3 separate regions of the Homo sapiens genome follow, and all the other regions are linked to region 3. Evidence: promoter capture Hi-C in 16 types of primary human blood cells and fetal thymus (Javierre and others, 2016). All regions are on one chromosome and are shown on one strand. The core of a region is centred on a gene start or on the middle of the fragment in contact, and the rest is flanking DNA. Distances in the headings are between cores, read along the strand shown. Region 1 holds the start of STK4 (serine/threonine kinase 4). Region 2 holds the start of PIGT (phosphatidylinositol glycan anchor biosynthesis class T). Region 3 holds the start of PCIF1 (phosphorylated CTD interacting factor 1).

Region 1 (3,644 bases), core at 58-2,557, 970 kb after region 3:
CTAGGGTGAATCCAAAGCCCATCCCAACCACCTATTTGCCTTCTGCAATGTTTGTGCACCTCAAACATCCCCAAGCTCAAACAACCCCTAAGAGTGCTGCCCAGGCAGTCAATCCCTTCTCTTCACCTCTTGGTTGCCCTGCACTTCCACACCCTGAACACTTCCTTCTTTAGAGCTCATTCTGCTGCAGGAAGTCAGACGTCTCTGTGAAATAGAAGTAACCACACTGAACCTCAGAGAAGCATGACTCCTTCGGTCTCTAGTCCCTACTTTTCTCCAGATGTGGTAGAGTGGCAAAAGACCCGGGATGTCCACAAGGGAAATCCAGGAGTTGAGATTTTCTAGGATCAGCCACCATCCTGATCTTGAACTAAAGCAATTCCAGGTACCACTAGGATTTGGTGCTGATATTCACAAAACAACTGAGGCCTGAAAAGGGCACAGACTGGCAGGGTTCAGTGACCCGGAGTAAAGAAGGAAACACTTCCCAACTACTCTGGACCTCAGTCTCCCCATCTCGAAAATATCCTCTTATTTCCTTACCTACCTCCCAATGTCAGGTTCTGAAGAGCTGAGGAGGATGTGAAGACCATTAGGAAGACACTGAACATCAGTAATAAAAGATGCCATCCTACAGTGGGGACACCACCAACAGCATCCTCTGAAATGCTACCCTCCACCATCCCCTCCCTTGCTAGACCCTCAACCTTTCCTCGCATGCTTTCAGCCTTAGGCGCAAAGCTTTTCCCCTCCACAGATCCCCCCACCGCACCCCTCAAGTGGGACTTCAGACCCTTAGAAAGTCCACCCGGCCTTCCTCTTGGCCAGTTCTCGATCCACCCCCTTAAAGAGATCCCTCACAGATTCTCACCCTGCTTCAGCATTCGCCCCCACCTCCGTGAGTCCCTGCTTGGATAGCGTTCCCCCGAGTGGCCCGGCCTCAGCAGGTACTCTCCCTAACTTGTCCCCACGTTCCTCAGCACAGTCTCACCACAGCGAGTGCTCCCTCTAACCGGTCCCAAGTCTAACCTCCTTAGCAGATGCTCCCCTCAGCCGGACCCTCACCCACCAGACGTCCCCCCCCTCACTCAGCAGGTGCCCCATCGGCTGGGTCGCTTAGCTCCGGGGACTCCCACACAGGTGTATCCCCTCAACCAGTTCCCGCCTTTTCTTCCCCTGACCCCATGCCCGTCCTCTTAGCCAGTGGCCCCTCACCGGCGCGGCGGGTTCCTCAGCTGTACCGTCTCCATGGCGCTGCCAGCAGCCGCCCAGACCCGCTCACTGCTCCATCCTCCCGCGGACCTCCTGAGCCCGCCCCGCAGACCCTCCCACACTTCCGCTTTCCGCCCCTACCGGAAGCGGCGCGCGGCGCGGGAGCGGGGCGGAGCCACGGCCCTGATCACGTGGTTCGGGCGTGAGTCTTGTGGCGCGGTGGGGCGCGGACCCGGAACCGCCAAGTGGTGAAGGCGCCTCCAGGCGGTGCCCGCTGGTCTCTAGAGTGTCAGTGGCGCTGTCTTCCTGCGTTACCGGAGCGCACAAAATACTCGGTCCCCAGGCCGAGAACGCACCTCTACCTGGGTCCTGGGTCCCATTTCACAGACTGAGATGCGTGAAGCGCCTCCTTTAGAAGAGCTGACAATTCTTAGCAAACCAAGTTTTGCGTGATTTTGGGGAGGCGGCGCTGCCCCAGGAACGCCTGGAGGTATTTGTGGTTTTCTGCCGCTTACCTGGTTGAACTCTGGTCCCAACGGGCCCCCTGCACATTTTCTCCTACAATGCATCAACGCGCAAATTGCCCCACTGTCTTTCTTAAAGGCCTCCCCTTTAAGTCAGTTTGCAGACATAAAAATAAGCAACATTAATTAAGCATTTGCCGTGTACTTGTCTTCATATATTATCTCATTTAATCCCCTGTGTCAAGCCGATAAGGTCATCCCCGTTTTTATTTATTTAATGATTTAACACAGTCCCTAAACGTTTTCAGTGCTTTACCTCATTTAATACTCCTAACAACCTAGACGGTATTATTATTATTCCTACTTCATAAGGCCAGAGAGGTGAAGTATCTAGCCCAAGGTCACATAGCTTAGAGTATAGGTTTGGGGATTTAAATCCAGTTTGGTCTGATTTCAGGGCCTGCACCACCAAACTGGACAGCCATGGGTGTGTAACCTCTTTTTGGGCCTGAGAAACAGACCTTTCTCTCCACTCAGAGCTCCGGCTTCAGCTATTGTGCTTCCGAATGCCACTACCATCAGTAAGTATTAGGAAAATGGCAGATTCTACCCAATTGACCCATGGGGAAAGTTATAGGAGAAAACTTAACCAGAGCAACCTCTCACTGTTTTTAATTGCCTTGCTTTTCCCAAGGATATGCCATCTACAGAACTTAACACCTGAGCACCCACCCTTCAGGGCCACCCATGGGCCCAAAACGGGATAAAGGAGCCATTCCCTGACATAGGAGGAAAACATTTGCTGAGAAGCTACTGTGTGCCAGACACAATCTTGGACTTTCACTTAATCCTCAAAACAGCCCTAGGAAGAAGTACCTACCGTTAACAGATAAGAAAGCTGAGACCCACGGTTTACACAGCTAAGGAGAGCAAAGGTTTTAACCCAGGACTGTCCTGACTCCACAACATCAAAGTTGTTGTTTTGTTTTTGGTGTTTTGTAGAAACAGGATCTCCCTATTATTACCCAGGCTGGTCTCAAACTCCTGGGCTGCAGCAGTCCTCCCACCTCGGCCTCCCAGAGTGCTGGGATTACAGGCAAGAGCCACCACACCTGGCTGATGAATAGGAATTGGGTAAACATTTTTGAAAATTAAATACCAAATTACCATTACACAATGCCAAACAGACCTCCTTTGTCCCCTTCCCAGGATTTTTCCAGAAGATGGACTCACATTATGATGGCCCCCTTTTTCCGCAGAGTGTTCCCAATGAAAATTTCTGAAATGATGGGAATGTTCTAAATATGTGCTGTCCGAAATAGTAACCATTAGCCACATATGGCTATTGAGCACTTTAAATGTGGCTAGCATAACTGAAAGGCCACATTTTTATTTAAATTTAAATTTAAATAGCAAACCGTGGCTAATCATAATAATAGCTTAAGAGAGAAATGGTGAGCAGGGTTACTGGGAGAGGTATTTTCCTATAAGCTCTGGATATACAGTTGACCTGGGAACAACAAGGGTTTGAGCTGCATGGGTCCACCAATACAACCCTTGTTTTGTTTTGTTTTGTTTTCAATAAATACAGTCAGCCCTCTCTATCAGAGGGTTCCACATCCACAATGAAACATGGTTGGAAAATACAGTATGGGATGTGAAACCTGTGTATAGGGTGGGCTGACTTTTCGTTTCCATAGGTTCTGCAGGGTCAACTATAGTACATGAGTATACTCACATTTTAGTATCCTAATAGATCCTCAAACCAACACCTGGCAGAAAATGGGGAACAATTGCATAACAGTATTCAAGGGACTGGGTATGATGGCTTGCACCTGTAATCCCAGCACTTTTGGAGGCCAAGGCAGAACAGGAGTTCGAGACCAGCCTGGGCAATATGGTGAAACCCCTTTTCTACAAAAAACTTAGCCAAGCATGGCATATTTGTGTAATGCCATTTGCATGACC
Region 2 (3,284 bases), core at 678-3,177, 520 kb after region 3:
TCTCAGTAATAGAGAAAGCATAAAACTTAATAAGCACTAGAAAGAATTCTAAGCATTTGCTCCACATTTCAGGCAATTACGGGCTGAGGGAAGACAGTGACAGCAGAGTAGACAGGAAAGGGTAGGGGAGCCAGAGTTGAGGCAAGAGAGAAAGTCTTGGCAAGCTGGGGAGTTACTGCTTATTCCTTATTCCTTAGTGTTGTCCAGGAGCTTTTGATAATTCTATGTTCAGAGCTTTTCAACTGCTCCAATCCTTAAGCCTCAAATAAAAATGGCAAACTTGAAGCCGGAAAGCTCTACTCAAACCATAAACATGCTTCATTTGGTATGCACAACATTGACCCGCACAGCACTCAAAAAATTTTTAAATTACTTGCTGATATTTGAATTTGCCAATTTTCACATTAAATTCCAGATTTCTGGTATCTCTTGAAAAATGAGGCCAGGTGTGGTGGCTCTTGCCTGTAATCCCAACACTTTGGGAGGCTGAGGCAGGAGGATCGCTTGAACCCAGGAGTTCGAGACCAGCCTGGGCAATATAGTGAGACCTTGTTTCTACAAAAAATTTTTAGAAACATTTGACTCTGACCACATTAGGCCTCTATTCCCACATGGCAACAATCCATAGAAGCTGAGTGGCAGAGCTGTCCTCGTTAGAATGTCACACAAACTCTCTAGCCTGCCACAATTCCTGCTGCTCCTTTTTATTGCCCTAAAACTTGTTATATCATACTTGCACTATTGATTTCTTATAGTGGGATTAAGAGGAAAATGAGATATATTTCTCATTCCTGTGTTTGTCAATTTTAAAAATACCTTTATTCATTCCTTACCTGTGTGGCCCATGTAGACCTGTTTGCAACCACTGCACAGAAAGGTTCTATTCTAAACAGGATAGCCACAGCAGCCACTGGGAAATAGCGGTTTGTAGTAGGCACAGTAACTAGACCTGCCCCCTCCCAAACAAAAGCAGTTCCTCTAACACTGTGATGTAGCATCCTGTTGGCCAGTTGTAACCCACAGATATGTTATGGTTGGCTTTCGTGGTATTTATTATCATTTAAAAAATATTAATGAATGCCTTTTAAAAGGTTATCCAGTTGCCAGTTTTCTACTGCCTTACCTCCAAATAAGCATTAATTGTTTGCTATTTGCCTCTCCAGGGATATGCATGTGCTACCTCAGGTCTGAAAGTTTTAGGATTGGGAAGTTTATTCATCTGTGGTAACATTTCTTACTTCCAATGCCAGCTCTACCCCCATGGAATCGCTGCCTACTGGAAGTGCTGTCCCCAAGAGCAGTGGCAGGATGACAACACTCTCCCAGCCACATTCCCTCCATGGCCTGCAACAGGGCCCAAGGTGTGCACTCACTCAGTGACAGTGTCTTGGAACCAGACCCACAGCTCTGCACCTGATGGGGCCTGCAGGAAGGGTGGCCCCCAGTATCGGGTCCTCCAAAAGCCTTGTGTGAATGACAGGTGCAGCTCCCGTAGAGAATACTTGGAGATCAGCTGCCCCAGGGCTTTGGGAAAGAGCCTGTAATGGGACACTGGGGAAACGGGAGCAGGTGAGTGACGATCCCCACCTCGTCGGGGTCCACACCCAGGATCCCGAACTCTACCCAGGAATTAGGCCCCGCCCCCAAAGTTTGCCTTCATCCCACGGCCGGCCAGCCAGCAGGCACTACGGAAATCTTTCCCTGGTCAGATCTCGCGCCCTCACCTCCTTCCCGCTGAAGCTCCGAATCCCAGCGCGTGCGGAACTGGAATGTGGCGGCTACGTCCCCGGAAGGCAGCGGGGTGATGACAAGTTCCTCCCGCAGGCTGTCGCGTGGGGGTTCTGCAAGGCACCAGCCGCCGGGCCCCAGGAGCAACAGGACGAGCAGAGCAAGCGGCATAGCCGCCGCCATGCCTGCGGCTACTTCCGCCTACCCAGCGGCGCTCGGCCCCATGAAAAGCCGGTATCCAATAAGAAAGGCGTGTGAGAAGTGACTTCCGCTGTCGTCCCGGAAACCGGGATGCGGTTATCAGAGCGACCGCCTGCGCAGGTCGCGAAGATTCCCTCAGAGCTGGTGGGTCTAAGGGGGTACTGGGAGGACACGAGAGGGAGTAGGCAGGGCGAGTAACCAGCTTGAGGCCGCACCTAGTTCATGGCGTATTCCACCCACCAGGAAATGCTTAATAATATGAAGCTCCTTCACTGCCATTTTACCCATTTGATAGTTGAGGAAACATTGACTGAAAAAGATCAATTACTTTTGGGAAAACCATTGTGGTTTTAATTTGCATTTCCCAAAGTAAGAGGAACCTCCTGCCCCTCTTAGCTTCTAGTGTCTCCATTTGCTGCAAAACCCCCAAATAAGTGGTTCTTTTATTACGAAAATGTTCAAACAAAATTGAAAGAATGAGCACCTGTTACAATAAACCTATTTTCCACCACCTAGATTCTACTATTTACATTATACTATACTTGTACTTTACCACATATTTGTCTATACATCCATCATTCCATCTTGTGTTTTGGTGCACTTCAAAGTAAATTGCAGACATTAGTACACTTTCCTTTAAGTAGTTAAGCATGCATATAATTAACTAGAGTTCAGTATTCGATTGCATTTTGATGTAAAATTCACATACAGTGAAATGCACAAATCCAAAGTACACATTCACTGAGTTTTGACAAATGCACACACCTATGTAACCCGAACTCCTATCATGATACAGAACATTCCTAAAACCCCAGAAAATTAGCAATACCCTTTCCTAGTCAATCCCTGCTCCTCTATCACCTTCCAGAGGCAGTTAGTACCCTGATTTTTTCCCACAATAGATTAATCTGTTCCAGAACTAAATATAAATGAAATCATATAGTATGTATACTGTGTAAGGCTTTTTTTTTTCTCATGGGAAGAATGTTTTTGAGAATCATCCATGTTCTTGCATGTATCCACAATTCTTTTTATTACTGCGTAGTATTATTAATTTATCCATTCAACTCTTGATGGGCACTTTTAAAGTTTTTGGTTATTATTAACAAGGCTGCTGTCTGTGCAAGCTCCTTTGTAGACGTATATTTCTCATATCCTTTGGCCAGGTATTTAAGAGTGGAATTGCTGGGTCAGAGAGCAGGTGTATGTTTAATTTTATAAGAAACTGTCAGACCTTTCTCCAAAATGTATCATTTTATGTTTCCATAAACTATGAGTCTCCATTGTACCACATCCTGGTCAGCATTTGAAGTTTCTAATTTTTTGTACTTTTTAGTTTTGACCACTTGGGTATG
Region 3 (3,444 bases), core at 1-2,500:
ATACGCACAAGCGGCACAGCTTAGTGTGAGGCTAAATGGGGACACTGCAGTATTTCCAAAGCCAGCTGTGCATCAGAATCATCTTGGAGTTTGTAAAAAAAAAAAAAAAATCAGACTCCTGTGCCTCACTGCGCATCTCAGAAGCCAGAAATAAATACGGAGGTGAGGCACACAAGAATTTGTATTTTTAAAACGCACCGTAAGAGTGACTGGGAGACAGGATGACTCATTTTTTCACACTATTTGAAAAAATGTACCCATTTTTTGCAATTAAAACCATTTTTAATTTCCTATGTGACTTGAGCGCAGCAGGTCTGTGGCCGAAGTACCAGCCCCTGGGTTGGACAGACCCGGATTCCGGGCCCTTCTGCTTTCCGGCTTATAAACCGGAATCACTCGACCGTTATATGTAGAGTCCAGCATTGTACGCTCCCAGTAAGACATAACTGCTCTTAAGTTAACGTCTTTATTTATCCTGTGGCTTCCCGACCCCCACGCATACCGCAGTTTGAGAATTACCGCTGCTCAAGGATAAACAACTCTATCTGCGCAACCAGAAAAACCCACCAGAAGCCAGAGTCCGAGTCCGGGATTGGAGGCACGTGGGGCGGGACCATCTCCGCAATGTACCAATCAGAATTCTCCGGCCCAGTAGGGAGGAGTCAAAGGGCGAACAAAGTACGCAGGCGCGACGGCGCACGAAGGCGAGAGGCGAGCTCCAGCGCGCGCGCGCGCGCGCACCTTCCCCTCCCCCTACCCCAGCGAGGGTGGGCTGTTTGGCGCGCGCGCGCGCGCCGGCCCATCTCTCGGGCTCCGCCCCCCGCCCCGCCGCGCGCTCCCGCCCCCGGGCTGAGGCGACTCAGAGTCGGAGCCCGACACAAAGGCGGTGGCGGCGGCAGCAGCGGAGGGGCCCTAGAGCCCGCTCCGCTGGGGCTCTCCGGGCCCACCTCCCTCACTTCGGCCACCGGCGCGGCCGCCCACCCGCGGGTCTAAGATGGCGGCGGCAACAGAGACAGGGCAAGCGGCAGTCCCGAGCAGAAAGCGCCGGAGGGGCCGCCGCCCCCCAGCTTCGGATCCCCAGACCCTGGCGCGGCTCGCTGCGGGACCATGGCTTCCTGGGACTCTTACCTGCCCGGAGCGGACTGGAGGGGACGCGGCTACACGTTCTGCTCGACCGCCCGTTTTGCCGCCTCCGCCTCGCCCTCCCCAGCGCCGCTGCCGCCATCTTGTGTCCCGGGCCGGGACTCCGCGCTGCGCATGCGCTGGTACCGCCTCTGAGGGACCTCGCCGCGGCCGCGCCGCCATCTTGAGTGTGGCAGGGTCGGCTGGCTCCTCGCACCCAGCTTGCTTTCGGCCCCCTCCCCTTCTTCCCATCCGTCCCTGCTGTTCCTTGTGGCGCTGAGGAAGGGGAGACAGCTTTGTAGGCCTGCGGGTGGACTGAGGAAGGAATGAATTCACTGGCACGTCCCCGCCTCAGTTTCCCCCTCGAGCACACACGCAGGAGCCGGATGTTCGCGGTGGGCGGTGCGCGGCGGGGTTGGACTGAGCGTGCGCACTGGGGGGCGTGGGGGCTGTCTTAGAACCTGCGGGGGTCTCGGGTTCTGCCGCCGGCCCAGGGGAGGCATCGTGGTGACGTAGGCTCCGGACGTAGCAAGGACCTGGGTCCTGGCACCCGCGCGGCTCTGCCTCTTCCAGCCAGTCTCTTTCCCTCTCTGGGCCTTTGTGCTGCGTGGTGTCCAAATGTTAAGAAGCCCTGCCCCATGCCCGGGCTACATATACATCGAACCCAAGCTGTAAATGCTCTTGAGTAGAAGCAACTTAAACTAGCCTTCGGGGGCAAGTAATAGAGATGGCTTTCGGCAGAGTTGGGAAATCAACTAAATGCATTGTAGGGCCTTTCCAACATTGACATCTGTGGCCATTAGTTGCAGTTCAAAGCCTCACTGAGCCCTCAAACCAGCTACAGCGGGTAGCCTGGCAGGGAACTGGCAGCTGTGAGGTGCTCCTCATCCGGCTCCCTGCAGGATTCTTTTTGGTAGGAGCCTGCAGGCGTCCGAGTGGTAGCTCCACCCATCTCCGGTCTCCCCAGCAAGCATCCCTTCCAGTGCTAGCTTGAGAAGAGGAAAAGCTTGCCACCTGCTGTCAGACCGGCGCTTGTGTGGAGCCAGGGGCTGTAGGTACCCCGGCTGAGTAGCCTCTCAGATGTCCATGGTCCTGGCTGCACGCCAGCGTGGGGGCAGGCAGGCGGACGCTCAAGAAAAACGGAGGCACCGATATGAGTAGTAATTGAGAACGAGGGTTCATGATCCTCATCTGATTTCAATCCCTGCTCCTCCACCCAAAATGTGTGGCCTTGAAGGAGTTAACCAATTTAAATTTTAGTTTCCTCAGTGGAAGATAATAAATCCGCCTACCTCATAAAGGTTTGGTGAGAATTAACTCAGGTGATGCATGTGAAGTCCTCAGCGCAATACCTGGCGCTTCCTAAGTGCTGAATCGGTTAGCCGTGATCATCTCACAGTGGCATGAGCATTGCTCCAAGTAGATTTGAGCCCTCCAGAAATAAGCCAGCTCTATATAGGCACAGCAGTTCTGCCCTCGCAGAGCTTCTCGTTCAGATAAGAGGCCTGATGGGAAACCAGACTCCTGGGTCCTGTCTCAGTTCTGGAAGGGTGGGGGGCCAGCTTTGATTTATGCCTGCTGCCCTGGCATAATTACTAATATTGCCTCCTTTTTCAGAAGTGCCCTGCTTTGGGCCGGGCGTGGTGGCTCACCCCGGTAATCCCAGCACTTTGGGAGGCCGACGCAGGTGGACCACCTGAGGTCAGGAATTCAAGACCAGCCTGGCCAACACGGCGAAACCCCGTCTCTACTAAAATTACAAACATGAGCCAGGCCTGGTGGCGCGCGCCTGTAATCCCAGCTACTCGGGAGGCTGAGGCAGGAGAATCACATGATCCCGGGAGGCAGAGGTTGCAGTGAGTCGAGATCGCGCCACTGCACTCCAGCCTGGGCGACAGAGTGAGACTCCTGTCTCAAAAAAAAGTACTGCTTTGGGCAGTAAACTACGTGGTCGCTCTTGACCTACGGGATAACCAGTTTTCCATGCTCATGCCCCCCAGCTAGCCCGCGCTTTCACTAAAGTTTAAAAACCATGTAGTGATTATTACCCTTTTTTTTTTTTGAGACGAAATCTCGCACTGTCGCCCGGGCTGGATTGCAGTGGCGCGATCTCGGCTCACTACAACCTCTGCCTCCCGGGTTCAAGCAATTCTCCTGCCTCAGCCTCCCAAGTAGCTGGGATTATAGGCACCCGCCACCACTCCCACCTAATTTTATTTGTATTTTTAGTAGAGACGGTGTTTCACGATGTTGGCCAGGCTGGTCTCAAACTCCTGACCTCATGATCCGCCCGCCTCGGCCCCCCAAAGTGCTGGGATTACA

What was found. The method cuts DNA at HindIII sites, captures the fragments that hold promoters and counts their contacts. A CHiCAGO score of 5 or more calls a contact.
Region 1: a contact is called between the fragment with the promoter of STK4 here and the fragment with the promoter of PCIF1 in region 3, in 3 of 17 cell types (non-activated CD4 T cells, fetal thymus and neutrophils). The highest score is 8.0, in non-activated CD4 T cells.
Region 2: the fragment with the promoter of PIGT here is called in contact with the fragment with the promoter of PCIF1 in region 3 in 7 of 17 cell types (naive CD8 T cells, fetal thymus, erythroblasts and 4 more); the score reaches 7.1 in naive CD8 T cells.

Annotation. Positions count from the first base shown.
Region 1 is chr20:44,964,175-44,967,818 of GRCh38, reverse strand. It overlaps STK4 (serine/threonine kinase 4), which reads right to left and starts at 1,307. Exons shown (of 11, transcript NM_006282.5): 1 at 1,216-1,307. The coding sequence starts at 1,250. It overlaps STK4-DT (STK4 divergent transcript), which reads left to right and starts at 1,361. Exons shown (of 3, transcript NR_038341.1): 1 at 1,361-1,702; 2 at 2,134-2,257; 3 at 2,371-3,644. RefSeq lists an enhancer at 13-92 and a silencer at 1,233-1,482. The HindIII fragment of the contact is 5,160 bases long and covers 744-3,644 here.
Region 2 is chr20:45,414,784-45,418,067 of GRCh38, reverse strand. It overlaps PIGT (phosphatidylinositol glycan anchor biosynthesis class T), which reads right to left and starts at 1,927. Exons shown (of 12, transcript NM_015937.6): 1 at 1,725-1,927; 2 at 1,374-1,551. The coding sequence starts at 1,911. LOC107985405 (a long non-coding RNA gene) reads left to right here. Exons shown (of 2, transcript XR_001754640.2): 2 at 1,251-3,284. The HindIII fragment of the contact is 8,427 bases long and covers 1-3,284 here.
Region 3 is chr20:45,932,489-45,935,932 of GRCh38, reverse strand. PCIF1 (phosphorylated CTD interacting factor 1) reads right to left here and starts at 1,250. Exons shown (of 17, transcript NM_022104.4): 1 at 1,129-1,250. LOC107985388 (pre-mRNA-splicing factor cwc22-like) reads left to right here and starts at 862. Exons shown (of 1, transcript NR_171669.1): 1 at 862-2,439. RefSeq lists a silencer at 720-929 and enhancers at 558-1,248, 1,249-1,940, 2,200-2,349, 2,632-3,324. The HindIII fragment of the contact is 3,152 bases long and covers 1-2,130 here.